3 separate regions of the Homo sapiens genome follow, and regions 1 and 3 are each linked to region 2. Evidence: promoter capture Hi-C in human tissues and cell types (Jung and others, 2019). All regions are on one chromosome and are shown on one strand. The core of a region is centred on a gene start or on the middle of the fragment in contact, and the rest is flanking DNA. Distances in the headings are between cores, read along the strand shown. Region 1 has its middle 39 kb from the start of MIR492. Region 2 holds the start of TMCC3 (transmembrane and coiled-coil domain family 3). Region 3 overlaps CEP83 (centrosomal protein 83).

What was found. The method cuts DNA at HindIII sites, captures the fragments that hold promoters and counts their contacts. A contact is called where the count stands out against the background at its distance.
Region 1: a contact is called between a fragment that was not itself captured here and the fragment with the promoter of TMCC3 in region 2, in 1 of the 25 tissues and cell types used here (aorta).
Region 3: a fragment that was not itself captured here is called in contact with the fragment with the promoter of TMCC3 in region 2 in 1 of the 25 tissues and cell types used here (bladder).

Annotation. Positions count from the first base shown.
Region 1 is chr12:94,871,158-94,875,463 of GRCh38, reverse strand. No RefSeq gene overlaps it. Among named protein-coding and RNA genes, the nearest start is that of MIR492, 39 kb to the right of the region's middle. RefSeq lists silencers at 1,430-1,529, 1,540-2,149, 2,210-2,329. The HindIII fragment of the contact is 3,754 bases long and covers 1-3,221 here.
Region 2 is chr12:94,647,748-94,652,476 of GRCh38, reverse strand. TMCC3 (transmembrane and coiled-coil domain family 3) reads left to right here and starts at 1,920. Exons shown (of 4, transcript NM_020698.4): 1 at 1,920-2,124. The coding sequence starts at 2,047. It overlaps LOC105369914 (a long non-coding RNA gene), which reads right to left. Exons shown (of 2, transcript XR_945225.4): 1 at 2,874-4,729; 2 at 1,475-1,572. RefSeq lists silencers at 1,797-1,966, 1,987-2,456, 2,547-2,676 and an enhancer at 1,753-2,468. The HindIII fragment of the contact is 17,613 bases long and covers 1-4,729 here.
Region 3 is chr12:94,451,693-94,456,291 of GRCh38, reverse strand. The region is part of intron 1 of CEP83 (centrosomal protein 83); the gene reads left to right. Among named protein-coding and RNA genes, the nearest start is that of CEP83, 5.9 kb to the left of the region's middle. RefSeq lists a silencer at 348-497. The HindIII fragment of the contact is 6,878 bases long and covers 1-4,599 here.

The DNA of each region.
Region 1 (4,306 bases), core at 95-2,594, 220 kb before region 2:
AAGATAAAGTAAAAAAGGGACATAGCAAGTGTCATTAATTGTCGTTTCTTACATTTCCCCCTCACACATCAGTCACTCCTCCCCCTATCTGTGCTGATAGGCACCAAAGAGAAATCCAGACAAAATGTTTTTATTCATTAGATCATTAAGGTACTTCGTGTAATATTACGGTCTCTATAGTGCTGCTGACAATCAATGTTAGAAAATTATAAAGGTATTTCTTTGGCAGTGGTGATCTGCCAGAATAACTGGCATAAAGGCAATGCCAAAGCTGAAACACTCATGAGAAGTGTTTACCCGGCACAAGCCTTTGCATTCCCACTGCTGTCTGCCTGCATACCTGTCACAGCCGCTTTGGAAACACAAGCGTCCTTGGATGCTTTTCAAAGGATCCTCTGACAAACAAGAGATATTTTTTTCTACACAAAATTCAGGCTGCCTTGAGTTCCGTGCTATTTGATTTACTTTGTTCAGCAGTCGAAGCAGAATAAAATCAGATTTCTTCCTGGAAGACCTTCCCACATCATTCCATCCTGTTCTTGCGGATTTAGATCCTGCATTCTGAGCTCAAGGGTGTGCAGCGTTTTCATGATCTGGGGAATACATTTTTCCCCCTTCTCATTTTTTTCCCGCAGAAGCATTAGCATTTGGGGATGGGCTCCCGTGTTGTTTGGAAAAGTTGGGGTGGAGGTCGATTGTGAAGAGAAAGCTGTGCACACAGGGGACTGCTAGGAAAACCCGTGGGTTTCGCTGGAATGGGGATGCTGACCTCTTCCCCTGCCGAGCTCCTTCACCTGAATGAGACCAGACGGTCTCTGTTCCACGGTGTTTCCTCCAGCCCCGGGTGGATCTGCTGTTTACCGCTCTTAACTCTCTTCCCACCCCTCCTCGGAAAGCTTTATGAATGCTCAGGACTTTCAAAAAACAATCGCAGAATCTAAAGAATGGTAAAGGGCCGACGCACTGGCTCACACCTCTCATCCCAGCACTTTGGGAGGCCGAGGCTGGAGGGTCGCTTGAGGCCAGGAGTTCGAGACCAGCCTGGGCAAAATGGCGAGACACCAGTCTCTACAAAAGAATAAAAATACAAAAATTAGCCGGGCGTAGTGGAGCACTCGCCTGTGGTCCCAGCTACTGGGAAGGCTGAGGCGGGAGGATCGCTTGAGCCTGGGAGAATCGCAAGGCTGCAGTGAGCCGAAATCGCGCCCCTGCGCTCAGCCTGGGGGACAGAGCGAGACCCTGTCTGAAAAATTAAAAAGAAAACGAAGAGTAGGAACGGACATTAGCGGGCCACCTTCCCATCCCATGGGGAGAATTTTAAGGTGGTACTTTTAAGGCGGGTGAGAATTGCCATCTGCGCTCTCCGCCAATCCACTCTTGCTCCGCAAACTTGGGGTCCCTGTAGGGTGGGCCCAGCTTTCACCCCAAAGCTTCTCCAGCTCAGTTCTGGGGGCCGCGGGGCAGGCATCGGAGACTCGCTCCGCTCCTGGTGGGGCCAGAACTCGAGGAAGAGGAGAGGGGCGAAGCGGCCCGAGGAGGCGGGGACGCTGCGACGGCGGCAGAAAGGCCCCGGGGCCCCGGAGCTCCGCGAGCTCAGTGCGCCCTTGGCCGGCTCCGCGCCTCCGCCGCAGCCCGGGAGAGCCCCGGGGACCCCGCGGCCAGCGCTACCCCGCCCCGCCCCCGCCGGCTTGGCGGCCGCGGCGCAGGCGTGTGCAGGAGGGGGCAGCGCGGAGCTCCCGGCCGGCCGAGCGTCGCCGCCGGCCCAGCCCTTCTCGCGCCCAAGTCGCCGAGCCCCGCCCGGACGGCCCAGACACCATGCGGAGGGTGAGTGCGCCGTCGCCCCGGGGTGCGGGGGCGGGGGCGTGCGCCGGGGTCCTCCCAGCGGGAATAGTGAGGGTGCGGCGGGGACGGACCTCGGCGGGGAGCGCGGTCGCCCCCGGGGGACTGAGGAGGGGAAGGGGCGCCGCGGGGACCCCGGGCCCGCACTCTTCGGGGCTGCGCTGGCACGTCGGAGCCCTGGGCCCGCGCTTGCGAGGTGGGCTGCGCCCGGCACTCCGCCCCACGCCTGCTGGCGAGCCCCTTCTCCGGCTCCCCTGACGCCCGCCTGGCTGCCAGAATTCTGCCCAAAGCCCCGGTCCTTCTTTGGGAGCCCGGGCAGCTCTGCTGGGCGTCGGTGGGGCTCCCTTGGCGCACACCCCAGAGACGGAGCCAGCCCCAGGTCCGGGCCAGGTGGGCGACAGGTCGAGGCCGGGGCTGGGGTTGGGGAGAGGAAGGATGCCTGCACTCCGGCATTTGGAAGGCGCGAGCCTCCTCCAGGCACGGCCCGCCGACGGCGCGCAGCTCCTGGCCTGGGGCGCCCTCGGGGGCTGCGGCTGCTGCTTTACCGGCAGGTGCCAGGGAGCCCGCGCTCACCCCCACCCTCCAGCCAAGGCTGCCTGTGGAAAAACGAAAAATAAACAGGCTCAGCTGCAGTGGCTCTTCCACCTCCAGGGACAGCTTGGGGGACTGGTGCTGCTTGTTGTTAGCCCCGGAGAGAGCGCAGGCCCTAGTGCAGCTCGTTCTTACTTGTCTGGGGAAGTTAATTGACACGAAGATGCTGGCGACTTTGTAAGTTACCAGACCCGTTTGTATTTTAACTTTGGAAATGGAAGGTGCTTTAATCAAATACAGGATCTCAGCATTAATATGTGTGGAAAAGCAGTAGAGGAAACTTAAGGAAATCCTATTGGGTACCCTCCACATTGTCCCAGAACTCCTAAGGCCACCCTGAAGACAGTTTACGCGCCAAGGAAGGGGTGGAGGGGTATTTTCTGAAGAGACAAGGCTGAGAAGAAATGGAAGAAAACCAAACCAAAACAAAACAAAACAAAAAAAAAGAAGAAAACAAAAACGGAATAAGACTCTCCCACCAGAGTCCATGCATTTCTCTAGGTTGGAACTTGAGGTTGGCTTGTTGTAAGGTACGTAGGCGCCTATTGCTTTGGTCATCTGAGTGGCCCTTTCAGAGATTTCCGCCTCTCAGCGGCTGGGCTGCTCCCAAGGGAACTCGGGCCCCTTTTGGCTGGTGGTACCAGAATTAAGTGTTCTGTGTGTGTGTGTTGAAGGGGGTGTCTTTGGAGGGAGTATAGAGCAAATGTGAATTGGCCCCAGCTGCCCCTGGAAAGTCTCTCAATGAGCTGACACGGAAATTTACCTGGCTTATACTTTTGGAGCTAGTCCAGACCTGCTCAGGTGTTTCTGGGGAGAACAGGATTCCAGCCAGGCTGGCCAGCTAGTTTGGCATGCAGCAGAAATGGAAACTGGCCGTGGTGAGGTTACTTGTTTGAACTCCAAATTCAGGGGTCAGCAACCTCCTTTTACTCTCAGTGCCTCAGGGTAATTAAAGAAAAGAGCCTGGATGGGATCCGTAGAAATGCGTGTTAGAGGGAGAATCACGATTTGGAGATGGAGGGCATTGACCAGAGTATCTTAACATGTGATCTGCCTACTACCTGCCTTAGGATGAAAGAGGTGGATGCTTGCTGCAAATGCAGATTCCTAGGCTTTGTTTCAAACCTAATGAGTTAGAATCTCTGAAACTGGAGCTTGGCAATCTGCATTTTAAATACTCAGCCCCCACCTCCATAAGACGTGTATTAAGCACCTACTATGTGCAGGCGCTGTTCTGAGCTCTAGGAATACTGTGAGGAACATGACATACAAAAGCCTTGTTCTCTTGGAGGCCGCATTCAAACTGAGAAATCAGATAATAAAGTAGTAAACAAAGGTACAAATAATGTAGTTTCAGATAGTGATGAGTGCTATGAGGAAAATAGAGCAGGATTTGTGCCCAGGTTTGCTGGACTCCAAAGCCCTGGCTCTTGACATTACACTCTGTTGCCTACAAACTTTTTGTTTCTGCCCCAGACCCTGTCTGGTTCTGGAGAAGCATATAATTTGGCAGTTTGGCAGATGCATGTGGCAGCCCTTCAACTGTGGCAGATCAGTAACTGCAGAGAGAGAGTGTGCAGACACACTATTATAATCAAAAGTAATTACTTTCCTTTGGTGTCCTTGAATGAAAGAGAAGGTGTGTAGGGAATGTACAGAGTAGGAGCACAGAAGATGCCCAGTATTTGGGTTGCTCTGAAGAGAGAAGCTGTGGTCTGAATGTTTGTTGTCCCCGCAGTTCATATGTTGAAATCCTAACCCTCAAGGTGATGGTATTAAGAGGTGGGTCTTTGGGAGGTGATCAGGTTACAAGGGCAGAACCTTATAAAGGAGGCCTCAGAGAGCTTCCTTGTCCCTTCCATGATGTGAGAAGACA
Region 2 (4,729 bases), core at 671-3,170:
CCAGCCTGGGCAACAGATACCCTATCTCTAAAAAACATTTTTTAAAAAATTTTACTTTCTGAATAGTTAATATATGCCCACAGTATAAACATTCAAGTTTCAAAAGTATACACAGTGAAAATTAGATCTCTCTCCATCTCTGCCTTCTAGCTACCTGGTTCCCCTCTCTTGGCATCAATTTCTTGTCTGTTTCCCTAGTTTCTTATTTATCCTCCCAGATATATGTCGTGCATGTAGAAGCACATAACATATATTGTTTTTACATAAATGGTGGAATGCCATATATATTATCCTGCACATTGCTTTTTTTCCACTGAACCATGTATGTTAGATTTGCTTCCAAAGCTATTCATAGAGGGCTGCCTCATTTCTATTCCAGTTACCTAATATTCTATTGGATGATGTACCATCATTTATTTACTTAGTCTCCTTCTGAAGGATAATTAGGCTATTCTGTCTTTACAGTGGCCTTCTAAGAAGCCAGTGTGTTTTGCCCATCTTCAATCGCTGCTTCACCCTGATGTCAGATATACCTTCTCCTTAAACTTCCATTCCCATGCTATCATTTCCCTGTTCAAGAATTTCCAACAGCTACCCAGTTCCCACAGAATAAGGCTGAACTTCTTACCCTTGAACGAAGATTCTGCATGGTCTCTGCCTTCTTTTCCATCATGTCTTCCTGTTCCTGAGGACACTCCCCAAAACTGATGACTTGAGGTTTTCCCAAATGTACCTCTGATTTTAGGGGCTCCAAAGTTTTCTTCAGCCTGCTCTACCGTCCCCTTTGAACCCTATGAGGGAAATCCTTCCCTCCCCCTGGACTGGTCACACTGGGCTCCAGGTCCTCTCTGGAACAGCTGCACTTTAAATATTTCAGCCCAGTCTCCCACTGTACACCCTACAGAGCCAGAACAGGTGTTTTGAATTTTGTTTGGGGTTACTGATATTTAAATTGTTCACCAATGGTCCTTCCTCTTCTAAACTCCAAATTCCTTGTGGGCAGGGACTGATGACTGGGAATGGGGAATACTAAAATGAAAAGATATCCTGACTTCCAAGTAGCTTAAAACATAAAGGTAAGCTGGGCACAGTGGCTCACGCCTGTAATCCCAGCACTTTGGGAGGCTAGGGCAGGTGGATCACGAGGTCGGGAGATCGAGACCATCCTGGCTAACATGGTGAAATCCCGTCTCTACTAAAAATACAAAAAAATTTAGCTGGGTGTGGTGGCAGGCGCCTGTAGTCCCAGCTACTTGGGAGGCTGAGGCAGGAGAATGGCGTGAACCCGGGAGGCGGAGCTTGCAGTGAGCCGAGATTGCGCCACTGCACTCCAGCCTGGGTGACAGAGCGAGACTCAGTCTCAAAAAAAAAAAAAAAAGAAAGAAACATAAAGGTGAGCCAGATATGCAAAATTAAAATACACAACACAGTAGGATCTTAGTTTAAGTGGAAGTATGCTCTATGCTCAGGGCAATCATGGTCGGGGGGAGTTTTTATTTTATTTCATTTTTTTACTTTAAATCTCTGGTCTCTAGTCCAGCGTCTGGTACATGGCAGCTGCCCAGTAAGTGCCTGTTGAATGGAGAATAACATAAAAAGAGGCATTTAAGGCAAGTGTCAACTTCTTGCAGTAACAGTCACCTTTTATATATAAAATAAGTCAACAGATAGTGTAGTGTGGATGTCGCTTATCTTTTGGGGAGAAAGAGGGCTGTGTGGGAGGGGATGGAATCAACTTTCAGCCAGGGAGGGAGGCGAAGACATTGCCTCCCGGGTCGGGGGTGGGTGGGGGGTCCAGGCGGCTGCGGGGCGCGGGAGAGGCGGGGAGAAGGGAAGGGGGAGGAGACTCTCGCCTCCTGCCCCGCCTCCCCCACCCCGCGGCGGCGGCGGCGCAGGGCGGCCGCGCGGGTGTTGGCACCAGAGGCAACAGCTGCAGCAGCCGCGCCGCCCCCTCGCCCGCGGCTCCCAGGGTGATCCCGAGCACAGCCGGTGGCTCGCGGCGCGGCAGCCCCAGAAGACGGGAAAGTTCGCGGCCGGAGCGCGGAGATGCCGGGCAGCGACACGGCGCTCACCGTGGACCGGACCTACTCGTACCCCGGCCGGCACCACCGCTGCAAGAGCCGGGTGAGCGCAGCGGGCTGGGGGGCGGCGGGTGCGCGCGGGCCCGGGGGCGAGGCGGGCTGGGGCGGCGGCTCAGTGCTAACCCACGCGCCCCCGGCGTTTCGCCGCCGCCCTCCGCTGCCGCCGGAGGTCCGTGCCTCCCCGATCCTCCGAGCTAAAAGGGTGGGCGTCGGGGGCGTCGGAGCCCAGGCTGCGGTTCTGGGATCCCAGGTCCGCCTGCCCCTCACGGCGCCCAGGTCCCCGCGCGCTATGCGGGACGCCCGGTTCCCCGACGGCCCGCGCTCTGCTGTCCTCCCCGCCAGGGAGCGCCCGCCGCTCCGCGAGGGAATCCCGCCACCCGGCCACCCGCGGCCCCGCGTCTCCAGGTCTCCGGGGTCTCGCCCTGGGTGTGACGGTGCCCTCCCCGCCGAACGTCCCGGCGGCCGCCCTGTCTCCCTGTCCTCGGGGCGTGTGGCCGGAACCCGAGCGCGGTGCGCAGCCGGAGCGCGGGGAGGCGGCGGACGGGCTCTGCCCAAGTGAAAAGTCAGAATCTTTGCGCTGCCTCTCCGGAGTTTCGAGCCGAGCCGAGCAGGCGCCCTCGCCATTGTTTGCAGTGTAATTTGCTGTTGCTGATTTTGGCTGTGGGCGAAAATAGCTCATTCTGAGCCTGCTGCAGAGACGAGCCCTGTAGGGCTTCAAAATAAAGACGGAGGCCGCAGCCCAAGCGCGGGTCTGTCCTGGGAGAGGAAGCCTTCGCCCTCCCCGGTGAATACCTTTGCCCTCCCGGGCTGTTGAATCGTCGAGGCTGGATGTGAGGCTCTGTAACCCGTTCTCCCCAGGGCTGATTGAAGTGCCATTTAACAAAGCACCTCCTCCACGCTGGCATCTGTTCTGGCAGGAGGCACCTGGAGTTGTTCTTTGCTCCGCCAACTACTTACTCGCTTGTCCGAGAACTGGGGATTTGGGTGTCAGCCTCTGTGTAAAGTTCACGGAGGGAGAGCCGGGCTCAGATTCTGGCCTGCCACTTCCAAGATCGAGAGACCAACTGGATGGAAATAGTAGCAATAGTGACGGGGTTGTGTCGCGGCCCTTTGTGCAGGATTTTGGTCTTCACTCATAATTTGAAGTAGTAATCGATTGCCCCAGAAGTGAAGCAATGAGTCTCTGGTTTATTTGCCCGCTTTCCCTTTTTCCTTTAGCATCTGTTAATCATTTTGGAAGGATGATTTGAGTTTTTACAGATTGAATATATTTGGTGGAATAATACCTCATGCACTCATCTCAATCTTACAATTCTCTTGTTTTTGCACTTTGTGTATAAGTTTCGTAACAGTTTGCTGTGAAAATAACCAGAAACTCCATTTGGAATAAACATTGAAGAAATGTGCTTACCCACAGGTAGACATTTCTTCTTGGATAGCTGTAATGCTAGTTAACAGAACTATGAAGAAAAGGAGATCATCTTCGAATGCATTTGTAATTGAGAGGATTCTGTAAAGTTAATATTGCAGACTTGAAATGTGAAAGCTTGTTTTTTCTTGTCACAACTGTGATCTTCTTTGTGTAAACAAGATTAGTAATCTTAGCGGGATGGATGGCTCATTGTCAACTCATTTAAGTGGTTTGGCAAAACTCATGCAACTTTACAAAACTCACTCTTCATAACCTGTAAAATGGTGGTGATAAAGTTTGTGCCTCAACTGCTTAGGTGGAATGTGGTAAAGCAATTGTGTAAGGTAACTGCAGAGTGTTTCTGCCGCATCTGCCACTGTTGCCTGTCTACGCCAGTCTTTTCTATTAAAAGGTCAAAACCTTATGTGATTTCTTGATTTTCTTTAAAATTCTGCTGACGGGCCGGGGGCGGTGGCTCATGCCTGTAATCCCACCACTTTGAGAGGCCGAGATAGGTGGATCACCAGGTCAGGAGTTCAAGACCAGCCTGGCCGAGATGGTGAAACCCTGTCTCTACTAAAAATACAAAAATTAGCCGGGCGTGGTGGTGGGCGCCTGTAATCCCAGCTACTCGGGAGGGTGAGGCGGAGAATCACTTGAACCCGGGAGGCGGAGGTTGCAGTGAACCGAGATCGCGTCAGCCTGGGCACAGAGCGAGACTCTGTCTTTAAATAAATAAATAAATAAATAAATAAATAAATAAAACAATTCTACTGACAATGTTATTGTACCTGCTGCCTTGTATTGTTAGCATGGAGATACCCGATTTTTAAATAAGCTGTGTATTAAAACTGAGTTAGACATTATATGTGCGGATTATCGTAAATTAGCACATTGGGCCAGTCAGATCTAGTGAAGAGAGGAAATCAGAGAAGGGCTAGAACTTCAGCAGACCGTAATCACAAATTCTACTACAGTGATGCTGGACTTCTTGAGGTCCCAGTTGAAACTTCTCAGCTATCTGCTTTTAGGTTTTTTATTGTTGAGACAGCGAGGAATAGGTAGAACTAGTGAAATTTTTGTAAACTCATAATAATAACTTTTCTCAAGCAGGGTTGATGTAATTTCAAGTCTGTCCTGAGGCTACAATAAGTCTGTTGTAATGAAGGGAAAGCAACAATTTTACTGTGCAGAAAGTATTCATCCATTTAAATGATCGTAGCTCCTGTATTGTGGA
Region 3 (4,599 bases), core at 1,294-3,793, 200 kb after region 2:
TAAAGATTCTGTTCCTAGAAAGTGAGTATTTGAGAATTTCCCATGGCAATACCAGCAGTAAGGACTCTCAGGAATGCTGGCACTATTCTTCAGTGGGCTTGGGGAGTTTGGTCAATTTCCTGGTTCCTAGTAGAATATCAGTTTATTAATTATATTTTTTTCATCAGGACTGCCCTCTCTAGGTCATGGAGAGATCACTGACTGTCAAGTCTAGTACTATTTCTTTTTTCTTTTTTTTTTTTTTGAGATGGAGTTTTGCTCTGTCGCCCAGGCTGGAGCGTAGTGGTGCAATCTTTGTTCACTGCAACCTTGAACTCGTGGGTTCACGTGATTCTCCTGCCTCAGCCTCCCAAGTGGCTGGGGCTAACAGGTGCATGCCACCACACCTGGCTTTTTTTTTGTATTTTGAATAGAGACAGGGTTTCACCACATTGGCCAGGCTGGTCTCGGAACTCCTGGCCTCAAGTGATTCACCCACCTTGGCCTCCCAAAGTGCTGGGATTGTAGGTGTGAGCCAATGCGCCCGGCCTACTATTTCTTTTAACTGAGCTATAATCCAGGATGGAAGAAATTAAGGAAATGCCCAGTTATTTGCCTTCTGTATATTGTGACTTCAGATTGCTTTTGGATTAAAATTCAGAGTTAGTAGGAACCTAAACCTGGCCATTCCCTTTTGGAAAGCACCTATCTTCTGTCTCAAAATATGTCTATAAAATGTCCATGTAGTTTTTACAGTCTCACCAAAAATCCTGTATCTAATGCTTATAACAAAGAGTTACTTCAGTTGAAGATATAGAAAGTGAAGTTGAGTCTCAGAATGCTTTCATAAATATTCGTTTGATTCAGTTACTTCTTGAGTGAATTTGCCATTCTAGCTTCTGAGTTGTTGCCCAGTAACACAATTGCAGTATAATATAGCAACCCTTGAAAACAGTAGCATTGGACTATAGGGATTTTCCTGATGAAGTTGCATTGCCTATCTCTGATGTTCATATTCAGCCTCTCTCAAGTGTGATTGCATTTTGTTTTAAGGCAGCTATTTCAGATATTGTTAAACTTAAGGGGCATGCAATATATGCTCTTAAGGATATTTTTTAGAGTACTGATGAATTATAACTTCTTTCACATTGTTTTCCACATAGAGATGCATGATAATGTGTCCGGAATTGGTTCATTCTGGTGGGTTCTTGGTCTCGCTGACTTCAAGAATGAAGCTGCGGACCCTCGTGGTGAATGTTGCAGTTCTTAAAGATGGTGTGTCCGGAGTTTGTTCCTTCAGATGTTCAGATGTGTCCGGAGTTTCTTCCTTCTGGTGGGTTCATGGTCTTGCTGACTTCAGGAGTGAGGCTGCAGACTTTTGCAGTGAGTGCTACAGCTCTTAAAGGTGGCGCGTCCGGAGTTGTTCATTCCTCCCGGTGGGTTCGTGGTATTGCTGGCTTCAGGAGTGAAGCTGCAGACTTTCGCAGTGAGTGTTACAGCTCTTAAAGGTGGCGCGTCCGGCATTGTTCATTCCTCCCGGTGGGTTCGTGGTCTCGCTGGCTTCAGGAGTGAAGCTGCGGACCTTCGTGGTGAGTGTTACAGCTCATAAAGGCAGTGTGGACCCAAAGAGTGAGCAGCAGCAAGATTTATTGCGAAGAGCAAAAGAACAGAGCTTCCACGGCATGGAAGGGGACCCGTGTGGGTTGCTGCTGCTGGCTCAGGTGCCTAGCTCTTCTTCCCTTATTTGGCCCCACCCACATCCTGCTAATTGGTCCATTTTACAGAGAGCTGATTGGTCCATTTTACAGAGTGCTGATTGGTCCGTTTTTACAGAGTGCTGATTGGTGCGTTTACAAACCTTTAGTTAGACACAGAGCGCTGATTGGTGCATTTGCAATCCTTTAGCTAGACAGAAAAGTTCTCCAAGTCCACACCGGACCCAGAATCCCAGCTGGCTTCATGTCTCAATAAGTATGTATTGAATTATTTTTTGTGTGAAGGACACGTGAAAATACTGGTTCAATTAAAGATTATTCTGGGCAGAAAAAGTATTATGTAATAACAGACTTCTCTACAACTGATATAGCCAGCCAGAGCTGGAGTGGATGAAGTTGAAATGGTTCTTTATAACATTTTTGTATTACTTCTAGAGCTTCATAGAAAGCTGAGATCACTAAGCACAATTTAATAGGTACTCTAATTTTTTTTTTTTTTTTTGAGACATAGTCTTACTCTGTCAGCAGGCTAGAGTGCAGTGGTGTGATCTCAGCTCACTGCAACCTCTGCCTCCTGGGTTCAAGCGATTCTCCTGCCTTAGCCTCCCAAGTAGCTGGGACTACAGGCACATGCAACCATGCCCAGCTAATTTTTTGATTTTTAAGAGAGACGGAATTTCACTATGTTAGCCAGGATGGTCTTGATCTCCTGACCTTATGACCCACCTGCCTTGGCCTCCCAAAGTGCTGGGATTACAGGTGTGAGCCACTGCGCCCGGCCTAGGCACTGTAATTTTGTGGGAAGAGAATTGTGATTCAGGAGACCAAGGCTTGACTGGGTGAGTCACTTCACCTTTCATGGCCTATTTTCTCATTTGAAAACATAAATCTCTGAAAGTTTCCTTCAGAAATGGTATGCTTCCAATTTAAAGCAAATTTTATTTCTCTTATATATGGGTTTAATCAATATTTGAGTGCCTATTATGTGTCTCATGCTATGCTAGGCACTGGGGAGATTGTGAATAAGACATAGTGCTAAGTCTCAAGCACCTTATTCTCTGATGGGAGAAATGGACAAAGTAATTAGTAATTTGTAATAAAGCATGTTAAATGCTATAAGGATAGATAAGAATGTGTTTTGGGGCATGTAGGAAGAATACCTGGCCTAGAACTAGAAAGAATACACAAAAATTGAGGAATGTCTCTTTAGAATCTTGTAAGTGTAGTTGTAGGGTGTACAGAGCAGTATTCAACTTGGCCCGGAGGAAGTTAGTCAAAGAAAACTAGGAAAACAATTCTTGAAGTTGGAGAGAGAGAAGAGTCATCAACGTTAGTGGTAGTTGAAATACCAGGTATAGATGAGGTTCCTAGTGAGAGTTGTGTAGAATCAGAAGAGAGCTTGTGAACACCAGCATGTAATAGGAAGGGGGAGAAAGAAGGTAGGAAAACCAGAGTAGGGTAACGTTTTGGAAACCAAAGAAAGAATGCACATCACATTTAGTTTATTGATTAAATGGAAATTGTTGCTCAAGAAACATTGAGTGTGTAGTCCTATAAATGTAAACCTATCTAAATAAAGATGCCCTCTACAAAGATCTGAACTTGCAAATGGGGGTAGTTTAAGTCCTTGTTTAGCAGCGTAACAGAGGAAAGAGTATGTACTTTGGAGCCTGGATCCTGAGAGTGAAGGTTAGATTACTAGCTGCGTAACTTTTTGAACCAGTTACTTAATTTTTTGGTCCTTAATGTATGGATTAAAATAAGGTAAGCTGTAAACTTGACTTTTAGTGGGCATTGTTGATTTTTATCCTTGCCATTATTAATGACTCTTCTGAACTACATACCCTTCTTTTCCTTCCCCATCCCCCGTCATATTCTTTCATCCTTCAAGATCCACCAAAATTCCTGCCTTTTCTTTGATATCTTCCTCTATGGATGATATTACAAATTTTCTGTAATGGAATGAACATGTCCTGTGTCCCTTAGAATTAGCAACGTTATTCTTTTTTCTTTTTCTTTTTTAAAGCCTTAAGAAGGAAATTGTATTATCTCACATGTAAGAAGTCTGGAGATAGGTGGTTCTAAGATTGTCAATTAAGTGGCTTAGTGATAATCTTTAAGAACCTGGATTCTTTTTGCTTGGTCATCCTTTGAACTCAGCCTTGATTACTACAACTATCAACAAATTTTCCAAAGTTTGGAAGAGATAACTTCTTTCTTCTACCTAGCCCTTTTTAAACAGCTTTATTGAGATATATTTTACCTACCATAAAAACCACTCATTGTAAGTGTACAATTTAATGGTTTTTAGCAACTTTATAGAGTTGTGCGACTGTCATCACAAGGCAATTTCTGACATTTTATCAGTCTCCTAGATTCTCTCAAGCTTATTTGCATTTAAGGTAACTCCTTCCCACAGCCCCAGAGAACCACTGATCTACTTTCTATCACTATAAATTTGTCTTTTCTACATATTTCATATAAATGGAATCAATACAGTAGTCTTTTGCATCTGGCTTCTTTAACTTCATGCTTTTGAGGTTTATTTAATGTATGTATATCAATGTTTTGTTCTTTTTAATTGTTGCATAGTATTCGTGTGTATTTTCCATTCACCAGTTGAATAGTATTGGTGAATAGTATTTCCCATTTACTGGTAACCAGTGAATAGTATTTCCCATTCACTAGGTGATAGACATTGGATGGTTTCCAGTTTTTGGCTGTTATGAATAATGCTGCTATGAAGATTTGTCTGTAATTCCTTGTGTGAGCATATGTATTCATTTGTTTTGGGTAAATTCCTAGGAGTGGAATTGTTGAATTATATGGTAAGCTTATTTTTAACTTTTAAAGAAACTGTCAAAATGTTTTCCAAAGTAGCTGTACCAATTACATCCTACCAGCA